Linked DNA regions of Homo sapiens: region 2 is linked to region 1. Evidence: promoter capture Hi-C in human tissues and cell types (Jung and others, 2019). All regions are on one chromosome and are shown on one strand. The core of a region is centred on a gene start or on the middle of the fragment in contact, and the rest is flanking DNA. Distances in the headings are between cores, read along the strand shown.

Region 1 (7,288 bases), core at 1,150-3,649:
TGAGATATGCTTTTTTTCACTCAGCATAATTCTTTGGGCATTCATCCAGATTTTGTGTATTAATTGTTCATATCTTTTTATTGCTGAGTAATAGTCCATGATGTGAATGTACCACACTTTGTTTAACTATTCACTGATTGAAGGATACTTGGGTTGTTTCCAGTTTGGGGCTATTATGAATAAAGCTGCTATAAACATTTATCTATAGGTTTTGTATGAACATAAGTTTTCATTTCTCTGGGTGAAATCCCAGGTTTTATATTATGCTATTACGTTGTATTAAATATATAACATATATTTCTAATATGGATTAAAACAAATTTATAACCATTAACAATGTTCTTCATATATTACCTAAAATATCTCATGTACCATCAGTAGCATATGTACTACTCTCCAGGAAAACACTGTTCTAAACAGAACCCAAATCATTCAGCCTTTTTCTGTAATTATATATGGGAAGTGGTTCAGTGACAGCCTAGACACTGGAGTTGAATGGTATTGGTTTAACTCAGGACAATTCCTAACTCTGTGACCTTGGGCATGTCATGTAACCTCTATAAGCTTTGGTCTTCTCATTTGAAAATGGGCATAATCTTTTCAGAATTATGAAAATAAAAGGAAATAATTCATGTGTTTGGAACCTTAAAAAGCATTCCATAAATGATACTTTTTATTACCATGTGGATCAGAACAGTGGGGAAAAGCCATTAACTTATGGGGAAAATCCATTAACTTAAAAGGCAAGCAGGGAGCCCACACTAGAGGGCAAAATAAGGGAGAAGCTAGCAGCCTCCCTTCTGGGACCAAGGGCAGGGTTCTGCAAAATGTACATATATGACTTCTAGGGGGTGCTATTCAATTTCATCCTTAGACTTGTGTATAGTTATTATAATGATTTTCTGGCAGATGGCAGTAAAATGTCCTGAGGAGGGAGCACCATTTCCTAATTCACCCAGAGATAACTTATGGGTAGGATTAATCTCCCGTAGACCCCTCTGAGACTCCTTTAATAATAATTTAATTTTTAAGTGATTCTACTACTATAAACATGTACACACATACACATACTGTGACACAGAACAATGCAAATACAGTTTCAGGAGATTCAGGAATTTTGAAGACCACCCATGTTAAAAGCCCAGTTCTAAGTGGTCTCAGAATCTCTAGAAGGTGTTTCCCATTCCCATCCTCCCCACTCTCATCCCCAATCTATCTAGAACATAATTAACAAAGGTGATTTAGCTCCAGAGCCTAGGAACACACTGCTGCAATTTCTGATATGAGCAGAACCCTCCCCTTCTTAAGTTTTTAAATATTTTTGTGTTGGTACTGAATTTATTTGGTTGTATTGCTTCCCCCGGAGTGCCTACTTTTCATTGAAAGTGGAAATCTCTGCAGTATTTTATTTTGTCCATGGAAGTTCACAAGCTTGGTCTTTGATGCTTCCAGGACTCATTAAAACACCTCACTTCTACATGTCTGAACTATAGCCCATGGACCTGGTAAGAGAGAAGCCCAAAGAAATTGGAAAATAAATCACCACACTGACTTTCCAAATTAAAATATATTATATTTTGGATGTTTCATACCTGTCTATATGGTTTTGTCATTGGCAAAAAAATAGCAAGTCTAAGGCAGTTTTAACGTTACATTAAACAATGTGTCCATAGTGAAATGTGATTAGTACATATTTCAGCAGCCCAAATTGCTGGGATAGGAGAAAGAAAGCACTGATCGTGGACCTATTTCGAAGAATGCACTAATGACTTTTCAAAATAATAGTATTTTCACGGGATGTGAGATGTCCAAAATTCTGATGCTGAAATATCAACATAGGATCAGAACTTATTTTAGTCTCCTATGCCACATTGAAACTTAATTTCGAGTGGAAAGGAAAGGTTTTCCCTGTTACAATTAAGATGTTTCTGATCATAAAATGAAGCTTACATTGTCACACTAGATTTCTTGATCCAACGCAGTACCCTCCCCGCCAATCCATCCAGAGTCCTCATTCCTAAATGCAATGCTTAAAAGGACATGCCACTATGCCAAACCCAAAGACTCTCATTTGACAGAAAAGGAAATGAATCTCTGTTACCTTTCTATCCCCTTCCTTTTGAATGAGCCATTTTTCTTCTTGAGTTGCTGGAATCTTCGGCACTGTCCAACTTTTCTGTAGGCAATCTTAAAGGGTTCTGGTAGATACAGCTGAGGTTGGGCCATTGCTCTCAACTTCACCTGTAGTAGCCGTTTTGGATTGTTTTAGTTCTTGAACTTACAGACTTCAATACAAAATCATCCAGTGACTGAATGTACTGTCAAGGTGTGGGCTATTCGGAATAAAATATGTAGGAAATTTTTAGAGTCTTTCCCTTATTCCCTTCCAGGTGTTAGAGACATTATTTGTGGGACTGGCCCTGTTTACAACTTCACAGAGGTCACCAGTGATGTATTTGACAGAGCTGTGTGAAATTCCATGGACCTTTGTGGAACACTTCACAGATTCTTGAACAAGGCAAATACAGAAATGATGATCTGATTGCCTCAATGCTGGCATTTGGATAGAAAAAAAAAATCAAACAACAACAACAACAACAAAAAACACCCACACACTAATTGACCACCACATTCAGAAGTGCGTATTTGAACTCTGAAGTGGTAGGGACCTATAGGAATACCAACGATACGCTGATTAACACAAGTTGAGCTTCTGTTAGATCTCTCAGTTACAGCTGGTGAATGTTCTCTGTGTCCTGTGGGACACATATGACAAGGCCAGTTGTTGTTTGGACATCTCAAAATGTACCCCAAGGGTGGTTTTCATTACATCTTGGAATTTTGCAGTGGTCTCTCAAAGTACATTGCTAAATTGAGGACCTGATCCACCCCTCCCTTCCAACATTGCCCCATTTATTTCGTGGTGAAGAGCGAATTCTGCCTGTGATGGAACTTCTCACCACAAGGTGGCAGCAGACACTAGGATTTATTCCTGTTACCCTCTCGCGGTTTGAGTTGTTCAGTCAAATAACTAGATGCTTAACAAGAAAAACTCCTCTAGAAAGGTTCTGGGAGTTACAAGAATTACTCTGCTTTCTGTGTTTGCATTAATCAATAATCTGGAGCATACTTCTCAAGCTTTCAAGTGCACACAAACTTCCTGGAGGTCTTTTTAAGATGCAGATTTCGATACAGTACATCTGGGCTGGGATCCAAGAATTTGCACTCCTAACAAACCCGCAGGTGACGCTGATGATGCCAGACTGCACTTGGAGTAGTGAGGGTCTTGTATGTTTCAGTACTGGGGAAAAGAGCTTTAAAATGGTCTAGAATGAAGTGTATAATGTTAAGGGGCTAAGAGAGTGGATTTGGGAATTATGCATGAGTTCTCATTTCTAGCTTAGCTATGTGACCTTGGCCAATTCATTTTAACCCACCCATGCTTGTTTTCTCATCCCTAAAGTGGGACAACTCATAGTGCCCAAGCCATAGTTTTATGGCAAAATTCAAGTGAAATAGAAATTCCGCTTCAGCAGGGAATGAGACCCAGGAATCCATATTCTAGGAGAGTGGGTGCAGATGTTCCTCTGTCCCTTATTTGAGAAACGCTGAAGTAGAGCATATCTAATATGCCTTGGCCAAATGGACATATGCTCCTCCCTGGTCTGTTTTTCCTCATCTGTTGGCATCCTCAGAGCACAATAAATAATAGGTGCTTGAATAAATGAATACATGAATATTTTCTTTAGCAACAGGGCAATATTTTTCATGCAATTATTGGCACTCCTGCCTTAATTCTGTTGTATTTCATCAATTATCTAGATGAATGAGATGAATTTTATGCTAGGAAAGACAGCTGTTTTTTATTTGTGCATGGGTGTCTATGTACATGTCTCTGTGTGTGCATGTCTGCATGTATGTGTGTATGTAATAGGCTGAAACACTTGCTGCTGTGGCATCTGTGACAAAACTTGTAGGTTCCCAAAGGAGTCCTGAAGCAGATGACAGAACTAGAAGGAGTGGGAAGGGGGTGGGGAAAGAGTTAGAGTATAGAGAGACATCAATTTTGAGCTGTGTCTGGATTTACATTCTAGATCTACCCCTTCCAAGCTTATGGGTCCTTGGGCGGGTAACGAAAACCTCTTTGGACCTTCATTTTCTCGTTCGTAAAACAGGAGTAATAACTGCTACCTCCCAAGCTTCTTTGAGTCATTCAGTTATTTAACAAATATTTGAATGCCTAGTGGTTCCCAGGCACCACCCTAGACACCACCCTAGACACCAGGGATACTGCAGTGAACAACATACACAAAATCTCTGAACTCATATAACTTAATATGCTGTGGGAGATGCAGGTAACAAGGAAATGAACATTTTAATTTCAGCTGGTAGTAAATGTTATGAAAAAAGTAAAAGAGGATGATGGGATAGAGTGACTGAGGATGAGGAGTGACTTTAGATGGAGCGTTAGGAAAGCCTGTCCAATGAGGTCATTGGTCCTGAATGCTGAACGGGGAAAAGAGCCAATCGTGTGAAAATTTGTGTGACCCAGGCAGATGAAACAGCATGTGCCAAAGCCCGGAGGTGGAAGAAGCCCAGTGTCTTTGAAAATGTGGAAGAAAGCGGTCAGGTGCGATGGCTCACGCCTGTAATCCCAGCACTTTGGGAGGCCGAGGTGGGTGGATCACGAGAGCAGGAGATCGAGAACATCCTGCCTAACGTGGTGAAACCCCCATCTCTACTAAAAATACAAAAAAATTAGCCGGGCGTGGTAACGGGTGCCTGTAGTCCCAGCTACTCAGGAGGTTGAGGCAGGAGAATGGCGTGAACACGGGAGGCAGAGCTTGCAGTGAGCCGAGATCGCGCCACTGCACTCCAGCCTGGGCGACAGAGCAAGATTCTGTCTCACAAAAAAAAAAAAAAAAAAAGAAAAGAAAAGAAAATGTGGAAGAAAGCTAGGGTGGCTGGAGCAAAGAGGTAGATGTGTGTGATAAGCTGGAGGGAGGACCAAATCTCTTGAGTCCTATAGATCAAATTAAAGGTTTTGGTCTTGATCTTCAGAGCAATGGGGAGTTGTTGAGGTTTTTTTGGTTTGTTTGTTGTTGTTGTTGTTGTTTAAACAGCATCTTACTCTGTCACCCAGGCTGGAGTGCAGTGGCACCACGCTCACTGCAACCTCTACCTTCTGGGTTCAAGCGATTCTTGTGCCTCCTGAGTAGCTGGGGTTACAGGCACGTGCCACCACGCCCAGCTAATTTTTTGTATTTTTAGTAGAGACGAGGTTTCACCGTGTTGCTCAGGCTGGTCTGGAACTCCTGAGCTCAGGTGATCCACCTGCCTCAGCCTCCCAAAGTGCTGGGATTACAGCCTTACTGAGGGTTTTTAGGGAACTTGTTCATATATTTATTCAGGGAAATGGAATTCAGTTGTGAAGAAAATGACTAAAATCCTTGCCCAGGAATTACAATTCTAGTGGAGGACACAGACACCAATATGTTAACCAATAGAAAATTGTTTCAGGTACTGACAAAGTATGCTATGAGACAAATAGAAAAAAAAAAACAAAATCAACAAAGAAAAAAGAATTAAAAATAAATAAATAAAAAGAAAAACAGGCCAGGCATGGTGGCTCATGCCTGTAATCCCGGCACTTTGAGAGGCCGAGGCAGGCAGATCACGAGGTCAAGAGATCGAGACCATCCTGGCCAACACGGTGAAACCCCGTCTCTACTAAAAATAGAAAAATTAGCTGGGCATGGTGGCACACGCCTGTATCCCAGCTACTCAGGAGGACGAGGGAGGAGAACCTCCCGGCTTCACGCCTCCTCGCTTGAACCCAGGAGGCAGAGGATGCAGTGAGCTGAGATCAGGCCACTGCACTCCAGCCTGGCGACAGAGCAAGACTCTGTCAAAAAAAAAAAAAAAAGAAAGAAAAGAAAAGAAAAAAACAAACAAATAAAAAGTAGAAAAACGTGGTAGAAAGTGACTGGGAGTGGGCACTCCTCCAAAATCATCAAGAAAGATCTCTTAAGGAGGTGGTGTTTGAAGTGAGACATTTAATGTTGAAAAAGAGACAAACTATGCTGAGATCTGGGAGAGGTATTTCAAAGACAGAAAACGACATGAGCAAAGGTTCACATGCAGGTGCAAACCAGGCATGTCTGAGGGCAGGAAGAAGAGCAATGTGGTGGGAACATAGGTGACATGGGGAAGGCATAGTTATGCATACGTTTTTAAAATGTTGCTGTGTGCAGCTTGGAGAATACATTGGAGAGGAAAAAGTGAGTGTTGAAAAGTCATTAGGTAGGCACTTGGTCCAGGCCGGCAACAGATGGGGGTGAGGAGTACCAGAAGTGTGCAGATCCAGGCAATATTTAAGAAGTTAAATACTGAAATGAATTGGGATATGGGGGAGATACAGTTTGGATATGTGTCCCTGAAATGAACTGGGATATAGGGGATGATACAGTTTGGATATGTGTCCCTGCCCAAATCTCATATTGAAATGTAATTGCCAGTGTTGAAGGTGGGGCCTGGTGGGAAGTGATTGGATCATGGGGCAGTTTCTCACCCATGGTTTTGTGGCATCCCCTGTTACTGTCCTCGTGATAGCAAGTGAGTTCTTGCAAGATCTGGTTGTTTAAAAGTGCGTGGCACTCCCTGCTCTCTCTCTTGCCCCTGCTTTCACGTAGTGATGTGCAAGCTCCCACTTCGCCTTCAGCCAGGATTGTGAGCTTCCAGAGGCCTCCCAAAAAACAGATGCTGGTGCCATGCTTCCTGTACAGCCTGCAGAACCATGAGTCAATTAAACCTTTTTTTTAGTAAATTACCCAGTCTTGGGTATTTCTTTATAGTAATGCAAGAACAGCCTACTATAGGGGGTGAGTAGAGAAGAGATACTCAGTTGGGGTGTTAAGTTGTTGCTGTAGTCCAAGGGTTTAACTAAAGGGGGAACAGTGGAACTAAGGAGAAGGGCACCCATTCAGGAGTCCCCCATCAGTCAACTCTCTTTATCAACCACCCTTCACAGGACATGGCTTGGAGCTATCCCTGTGTGATCATTCCCCGGACATTTGTAAATGTCCCTCTGAAAAGCCAAAAAGCCAGCTGTAGCAGGACAAAATCTGGTCAAAACACAATCTCCCTTGTTCTTAACAGTATTCTTCCTTTGAACATGTCTGAGATTGCATAATCCTATTCAGGTAACCATGACAACAGTTGACTCCTATTGAGATAGCAATTGATTGAAACCTCTAAGTCAGAGATTGCAAACATGAATAACCGCAGG
Region 2 (7,819 bases), core at 2,839-5,338, 52 kb after region 1:
ACCAGTTAGAATGGCAATCATTAAAAAGTCAGGAAACAACAGGTGCTGGAGAGGATGTGGAGAAACAGGAACACTTTTACACTGTTGGTGGGACTGTAAACTAGTTCAACCATTGTGGAAGTCAGTGTGGCGATTCCTCAGGGATCTAGTACTAGAAATACCGTTTGACCCAGCCATCCCATTACTGGGTATATACCCAAAGGACTATAAATCATGCTGCTATAAAGACACATGCACACATATGTTTATTGCGGCACTATTCACAATAGCAAAGACTTGGAACCAACCCAAATGTCCAACAATGATAGACTGGATTAAGAAAATGTGGCACATATACACCATGGAATACTATGCAGCCATAAAAAATGATGAGTTCATGTCCTTTGTAGGGACATGGATGAAATTGGAAATCATCATTCTCAGTAAACTATTGCAAGGACAAAAAACCAAACACCGCATGTTCTCAGTCATAGATGGGAATTGAACAATGAGGACACATGGACATAGGAAGGGGAACATCACACTCTGGGGACTGTTGTGGGGTGGGGGGAGCGGGGAGGGATAGCATTAGGAGATATACCTAATGCTAAATGACGAGTTAATGGGTGCAGCACACCAGCATGGCACATGTATATATATGTAACTAACCTGCACATTGTGCACATGTACCCTAAAACTTAAAGTATAATAATAAAAAAAAAAATTGCCTAAGGTCACACCATTTACATGCAGTAAAGACAGGATACAACCCGTTTTTTATTCTACTTTGCCACAATGCTTTGTCCAACAGTAATCTACACTGGAAGGAAATCTAAGATGTGCCTTTGTTTCACCAAACTGCCTGCTTTTGTGTGTCAGTCTGTGTCAGTCTTGGGTATATTCTGAGACCATCCCTGTGAAATGAAAATGGAGATATGCTTGCCTTTTGCAGAATGATGTATTACTTGAAACACATACATTTAGCTGGGTGTGCAGTGGCACATGTCTGTAATCCCAGCTTCTTGGGAGACTGAGGTGGGAGGATTGTTTAGCCCAGGAGTTTGAGAATAGCCTGAGCAACATAGTGAGACCCCCATCTCAAAAACAAAAACAAAAACAAAAACAGAAAACATGTACGTTTAAAAAATTTGGTCATTTTTGTTCAAAGAAATCTCATTTTATAAGGTTACTAAAGAGTTGGACTATGAAGACCCAGAGATAATTGCAGCTGGACATACCTATGAAATAATGATTTTAGTATTTTATGACCTACTTCCTTCCCATACAGGTAATCTGGATAAACTTTTCAAAGAGCAATAAGTGTCTATACTCTAGACTCTTCAATTTAGATTTTAAAATGTAAAGATCCATCGTGTTTGAGGCAGTTTTTTGAAGTTGGGCAAAGGAGGAAGAGGAGAATTAAGTAGACTCATGTTGGAAGTTTTCATTAGATCTGGGAAGTCTCTTTTGCCTCTTAACAATGCCTTAATGAATACACAATTCTTAAATACCACTCCAGCTAGAGATCCTAGGAGGTAGAAGGGGCAAGGGATGTGTAGAACTAACTCTTATGCTTTATACTTGAATACCTTTATGCTAGTAATGCCAGACACTTCTTACTTGAAAAGAACCATATGTTGGGCAACATGTAGTCTGAACATATAGGTAATAGGATGTTTTAAAAGTATTTTATTTGAATTATTTTATATGACATATATAGAGCCATATTAATGCAAATCATGAGTTACTTGCCAAGTTCCGCAGCCCGGGAACACCTTCATGGAGGTGCAGGGCATGGTTATCCCTCTCTGCCATTTGGTCTTTTCATAACCATCCCACCATTTTGGGTCAGCCTGTGTTAGAATGAGTCTTTGGTACAGTGAGATTAAGTCCACCCAGATTCTATGGTCATAAAATTCTTGGCATTTGTGGATTTAATAGTCATAGTTTTGCTAATTGTAAACCACTCTTTGGTACATATTTAAATTGTGAGCTATAGATCTAGAGCAGAGTACTTAGAGAGTGGCCCAGCTTAGTTAAACACCTGACACCTGCTTCTGTTTGCTTATTGTACTACACATCAGAACATACAAGTGCCCTAAAGGGTCATTTACATATTCACCTATGTATTACCATTTTAAGAGTTAATTTGTTGGCTATAGAGGTATTTGTGAAAGTAGAGATTCTTAAAATTCTGGATACATTTGTTATTAATGCCAAGCATCTATTGTATCTGGAAAATATGGTAGTAAGTAATCGAGCAGTTGGTTGGCATCAAAGATATTCAAGACAATGTGGGTGTTTGGGTTGCAAACATAAGTTTAGTAGTAGAATGTCAGTTCCTGGTAAAGGAGAGCCTAGAATAGGGGTGGCATTTGAGTTTCTTCTCTTGTGAGAAGTCTGAATCATTGGTGGTAATTTCCTGGGTCATTGAGAAGGATTTTGAGATTGCATCTGGGAGCAATGAGGAAGAGTGCTTTGTCTGTCATGGATGGATAAGAGTGGAATGATGGTATATATCTATACGTTTGCAACCAAAGGGAACTTAGGCTGAACTGTAATCAGCACATCTAGGGCTCATTAAATCACTCTTGACTCACGGATACAAGAGTTCTAATGAGGCTAAGTCTACAAAGGTGATTTGAATACTTAAATGACCCAACCATGTGGAAAGATGATGTATAAGGGACAGGGACTTAAGCATGACACTATGCCCAGAAGTGTTCTTGTTGTAGTTTCTCTGTTCCTAACTTGTGTTCTGATGCAAGAAGCCTATATTGTAGCCCAATTGACCTTTCAGGATGGATACACTTTCTTGCAGCTACTCATATTGATTTTCTAATCAAAAAAGAGTCTTTCCCTCTCACCAGATTTGAGCCTTTCCCTGATACGGAAGAGGAAAGACATTTCTCACAGTAATAAATCCCCATTCTTTCTAGTCCCTTCACACCCAACACATTCAAAGGATGTGAATAAAGGATGCTTGTAATAGTGCACAAGTAGTTCAATATATTTTTACAAGCCAGCTAATTAGTATAGTTTTGAGTGTTTATGGATGCAATAAAAATCATTGTATGGCAGAGCTGTAAATGGCACCTGCTCTTGCAACACATGAGTGACGTTCATTGTAGGAAATATAGAGGCTTTAACGTAAATCACCTGTCTTTGTAGAATAGTGCTTCTTAATCTTTCTTGTGGGGCATGAACACTTTTGAGATTCTGATAAGAGCTGTGGATCCTATCCCTTGAAAAATGCACATAACAACACATACCAAAATTCAATGAATGTCACAGATTCTCTGAAGTAAACGTTCTATGAATCCTACGAATCCTAGATTAAATTTTCTTATTTGACACACGTGGCATGGATTTTCAGTAGAGGCAATACCAGCACTCTTCAGAACATGAATTCCACAAGATAATCCACTAAAGAAGAATTCTTTGGTCAAATAAATTTGGGGAGCAAGGCATACCTGGAGATTTATCATATATAATGATATATTGGAGATCTGAAGAAGTCTTGCCAAAAAGAAACCTTTTACCTCTGTTTCATTAGGATTCTACTTTTGACACATTAGCATCTCAAAGAAGATATTTTGGGAGATGCTGGTGAACATAGCTTGGTTTAATACCCATCTGGTGACTTATGAGTTTTGTGATCTTTGTCTAAGAACTGAACTCTGTGAATCTCAGTTTTCTTGCCTGTGAAATGGGGACAATAATACCAATGGCAAATCAGTACCTTTTACAGTAAATGTTAATTATTATTTTACCTTTATTAAAATTTTTCCGTGTTTGCAAGTTTCTTGCTTTTATGTTGAGACATCAAGTTCCTTCTTTTTGACAACTCTGTAATGATAGTTTAAGCTTGTTTGTCTGAAATACAGAGTTCATTTTTGGTAACACACAATATACAAACATTTGGCTGAGGTGAATAAAATGTAATAGCTGCCTTTTTACTTAACCTTTTATAGTTTAAATATACCTTCTTGGGCACGATCTTATTTTGTCTTCATACCCACACTGTGATGTAGGAGATTGAAACTGATGTTATTCCTTTTTTTTTCTTTGATGAGGAAACTGATCCTTGGAGAAATTAAGCTAGTTCAAGGCCTCAGGGTACAGGTGAACCATGAATAACATGGGTTTGAACTGTGAAGGTCCATTTATATACAGATTTTTTTCAACCAAATGCAGATCCAAAATACAGTATTCAGTATGAGAAACCTGCATGTATTAGAGTGGCAACCTTTTGTATTCACAGGTTCTGCAGAGCTGACTGCAGGACTTAAGCATGTGCATGTTTTGTTATATGCCAGGGCCTTGGAACCAGTCCCCGTGTATACTGAGGAACAGCTGTACGTGTTCAAGGCTAAGCCTTGAACGTGATTTTCTGAGTCTCTTTCCCTTCCACTTTCTAGGATATACATTAAAAGCAGAATTGAGAATGTCACATGCTGGGTTGAGAATGACACGCCAACAAACTCTCTAATGGAGGAGACTGTACCCATGAAAAATGCAATAAACTATCTTGTGTGAAATATATAATTGTATATTTTAAATGATGTATATAAATACATGCATATTTCTACTATACAAAACAAAATATACCATGCAATACATTATGTATTTTTCACTAAATTGCTTTGGCTAGCACCAAAATTTATTTTGGTTCCTTGAGAATGCAGTCTGGGAGCAGGGGTTGCTTGGGAGCACAGAGAATCCCACTGCAGTTTCAAAATTCCTTGCTAAGCCTGTTCCTGGGGGGACGGGGAGCTTGTTTGTGGAATAAAACTACAACAACAAAGCATTTATTCAGTGTTCAATTTCACAGCAACTGTGACCTTCATTGTGAAGGTTGCTCCTGCCAGTGACTTCAGCCCTGTATTTAAAGCTGCACACTATTCATTCTCTGTTCCGGAAACGTTGGGAGGTAAGAGATTCCCCAAGTCTATGGTGTTGAAACATGCAGAAGGAAACACCTACCACATTTCAAATGAATGGCCAGTGGAAAAAAGCATATACATTTACAAAATGCAAGCAAATAAGAGAGCATTATGGAATCCCAGACACTCAAGAACAAGGCACTTTTCGTTGGTAACACCTTCAGTGTATCATTTTGATGGCTCCCCGAAGACTTCCTTAACATTTGATGACGTAGGATTTTTGTAATAAAAAATTACACAATACTAATTTTATTCCATTTATCTTCCCCCTTGCCTCTAAATTAGATCTAAATGCAAAGAAGGTAGAAACGATGTGCTCATTGTCCACGCAATTCAATCCTGTGAATGTCTGGGGTCATGATTTTAGGTCCAGAGTCAAGATCTTAGTCAGGGTTCTTTTTCAGCCATTTATTACATATTAAGTAGGACACATTTGTTAGTATAGATCAAGGAACGTTAAATTTAGAAGAGACAGCAGAGGTCCTACTTGTATCTTCTGTCATCTAAGAGAGGAACACATCCTTTCTTCAGCATCTCTTTCAGGTTTGACTTGAATACTTCAAGGGATGGATGGAACCAGTTGTGTGCTAGAGTTGAATCATACTGGCTTGCAAGATCCAATTGTTAAATCTGCAGGAATTTGATAACCTGATTATTAATAATATTCTTAAAAATAAATTAATAAACTTAGTTATAAAAGTTATGTTAAAAGTTAGTAAATGCTAAAAACTCAGTACTTCTTAATTATGTTACTACATTTTACTATTATATTTGCCTTGAGGTTATTCACATCTGTTGGGACTGAATGGTGAAATTCCATAAATAGAATGGTGAAATTCCATAGATAGAATGGCATGCTACTGCATTTCTCTTTCCAAGTTAGCAATAATTATTGAAAATTTAAAATTGAAAATGGTGAGAGCATTTATACCATAGAAATCAACAAACATTACATATTAAAACTTGATTCATAGTTTTTAAAAAAAATTATCTTGTCTTAAGAAATTGATAGAGAAAATGTTAATAATACAGATTAAATGTAAAAGTCTGACTGGATTAAGAAAATGTGGCACATATACACCATGGAATACTATGCAGCCATAAAAAATGATGAGTTCATGTCCTTTGTAGGGACATGGATGAAATTGGAAATCATCATTCTCAGTAAACTATTGCAAGGACAAAAAAACCAAACATCACATGTTCTCACTCATAGATGGGAATTGAACAATGAGAACACACGGACAGAGGAAGGGGAACATCACACTCTGGGGACTGTTGTGGGGTGGGGGGAGGGGGGAGGGATAGCATTAGGAGATATACCTAATGCTAAATGACGAGTTAATGGGTGCAGCACACCAGCATGGCACATGTATACATATGTAACTAACCTGCACATTGTGCACATGTACCCTAAAACTTAAAGTATAAAAAAAAAAAGGTCTGAGATTATTGTTGTGAGTGCACAAAAATTGTGGAAATAGTCTTCTAGCAATCAAAAACTGTTTTCCAATTCAGCAAATAAGCCATTCCCATCATTGATGAGCTAGTGAAGTTCTGCCACGGCTTCACTTTCACCTTACTCTTTAATACAAAGGAAAATATCAACTAACATTCATGTTGGCACTACTCATTTGTCATTTGCAATCATAGTGTGGCAATGTGTAGGACAGTTTGTGAATCAGTGAAAGCATTCTATGAAAATCAATTGTCTATATGGAAATTTACAATACAGAGTATTTTATATCTCATCGTTAACTGTAAATTTTACATTCCCTATCTTTTATATCAGTAAAATTTATAACAAACATATATTTATGTGAATATGTGTGTGCATGCACACGCACGCATGTGCGCGCGCACACACACACACCAGTTTTTTTTCAGAGAGTTGGTTTTTAAACATTTGCCAGCATAACACTGGGTGGAACCCACACTACTTCAAGCCAGCTTATTTCCTTGCCAGACAACTGCAAATGTTGAGAGACTAGGAAATCAAACGTTAGACAAATGTTCTGAGGAAAGACTGGAAAATCAAAAGCCCACACATTTGAATTTCTTTCTTTCTCTCTTTTCCTTTCTTTCTTCTTTTCTTTCTTTCTTCCTTCCTTTCTTTCTTATTTTTCTTTCTTTCTTTCCCTCTTTCCTTTTTCCTTTTTCCTTCCTTCCTCCCTCTCTCTCTCCTTCCTCTCTCTCTCCTTCCTCCCTCTCTCTCTCCTTCCTCCCTCTCTCTCTCCTTCCTCCCTCTCTCTCTCCTTCCTCCCTCTCTCTCTCCTCCCTCCCTGTCTCTCTCCTTCCTCCCTCTCTCCTTCCTTCCTTCCTTTCCTCCACCTCCTCCTCCTTCTTCTTTTTCTTCTTCTTCTCCTTCTCCTTTGTCTTCTAGTTCTTCTTCTTCTTCTTCTTCTTCTTCTTCTTCTTCTTCTTCTTCTTCTTCTTCTTCTTCTTCTTCTTCTTCTCCTTCTTCTTCTCCTCCTCCTCCTTCTCCTTCTTCTCCTTCTCCTTCTCCTCTTATTTCTTTCTCTCTCTCTCTCTTTCTTTTCTTTCTTTCCTTCTTTCTTTTTCCTTCCTTCCTTCCTTCCTTCCTTCCTTCCTTCCTTCCTTCCTTCCTTCCTTCTTTCTTTCTTCTCACTCTGTTGCCTAGGCTGGGGTGCAGTGGTGCAATCACATTTCACTGCAGCCTAACCCTCTTAGGTTCAAGCAATCATCCCATCTCAGCCTCCCAAGTAGCTAGGACTACAGGTGCACACCATCATGCCCAGCTAATTTTTGTATTTTTTGTAGAGATTAAGTTTTGCCATGTTTGCCAGGCTGCTCTTGAACTCCTGGGTTCAATCAATCCTCCTGCCTCCACCTCCCAAAGTGCTGGGATTACAGGCATGAACCACTGTATCTGG

The links. Contacts are between HindIII fragments. The study calls those that stand out against the background at their distance.
Region 2: a contact is called between a fragment that was not itself captured here and the fragment with the promoter of C3orf49 in region 1, in 1 of the 25 tissues and cell types used here (mesendoderm cells).

What each region holds. Positions count from the first base shown.
Region 1 is chr3:63,814,410-63,821,697 of GRCh38, reverse strand. It overlaps C3orf49 (chromosome 3 open reading frame 49), which reads right to left and starts at 2,399. Exons shown (of 7, transcript NM_001355236.2): 1 at 2,102-2,399. The coding sequence starts at 2,226. RefSeq lists a silencer at 2,933-3,052. The HindIII fragment of the contact is 1,936 bases long and covers 1,689-3,624 here.
Region 2 is chr3:63,763,766-63,771,584 of GRCh38, reverse strand. It overlaps the pseudogene CDHR18P. Among named protein-coding and RNA genes, the nearest start is that of C3orf49, 52 kb to the left of the region's middle. The HindIII fragment of the contact is 5,986 bases long and covers 1,096-7,081 here.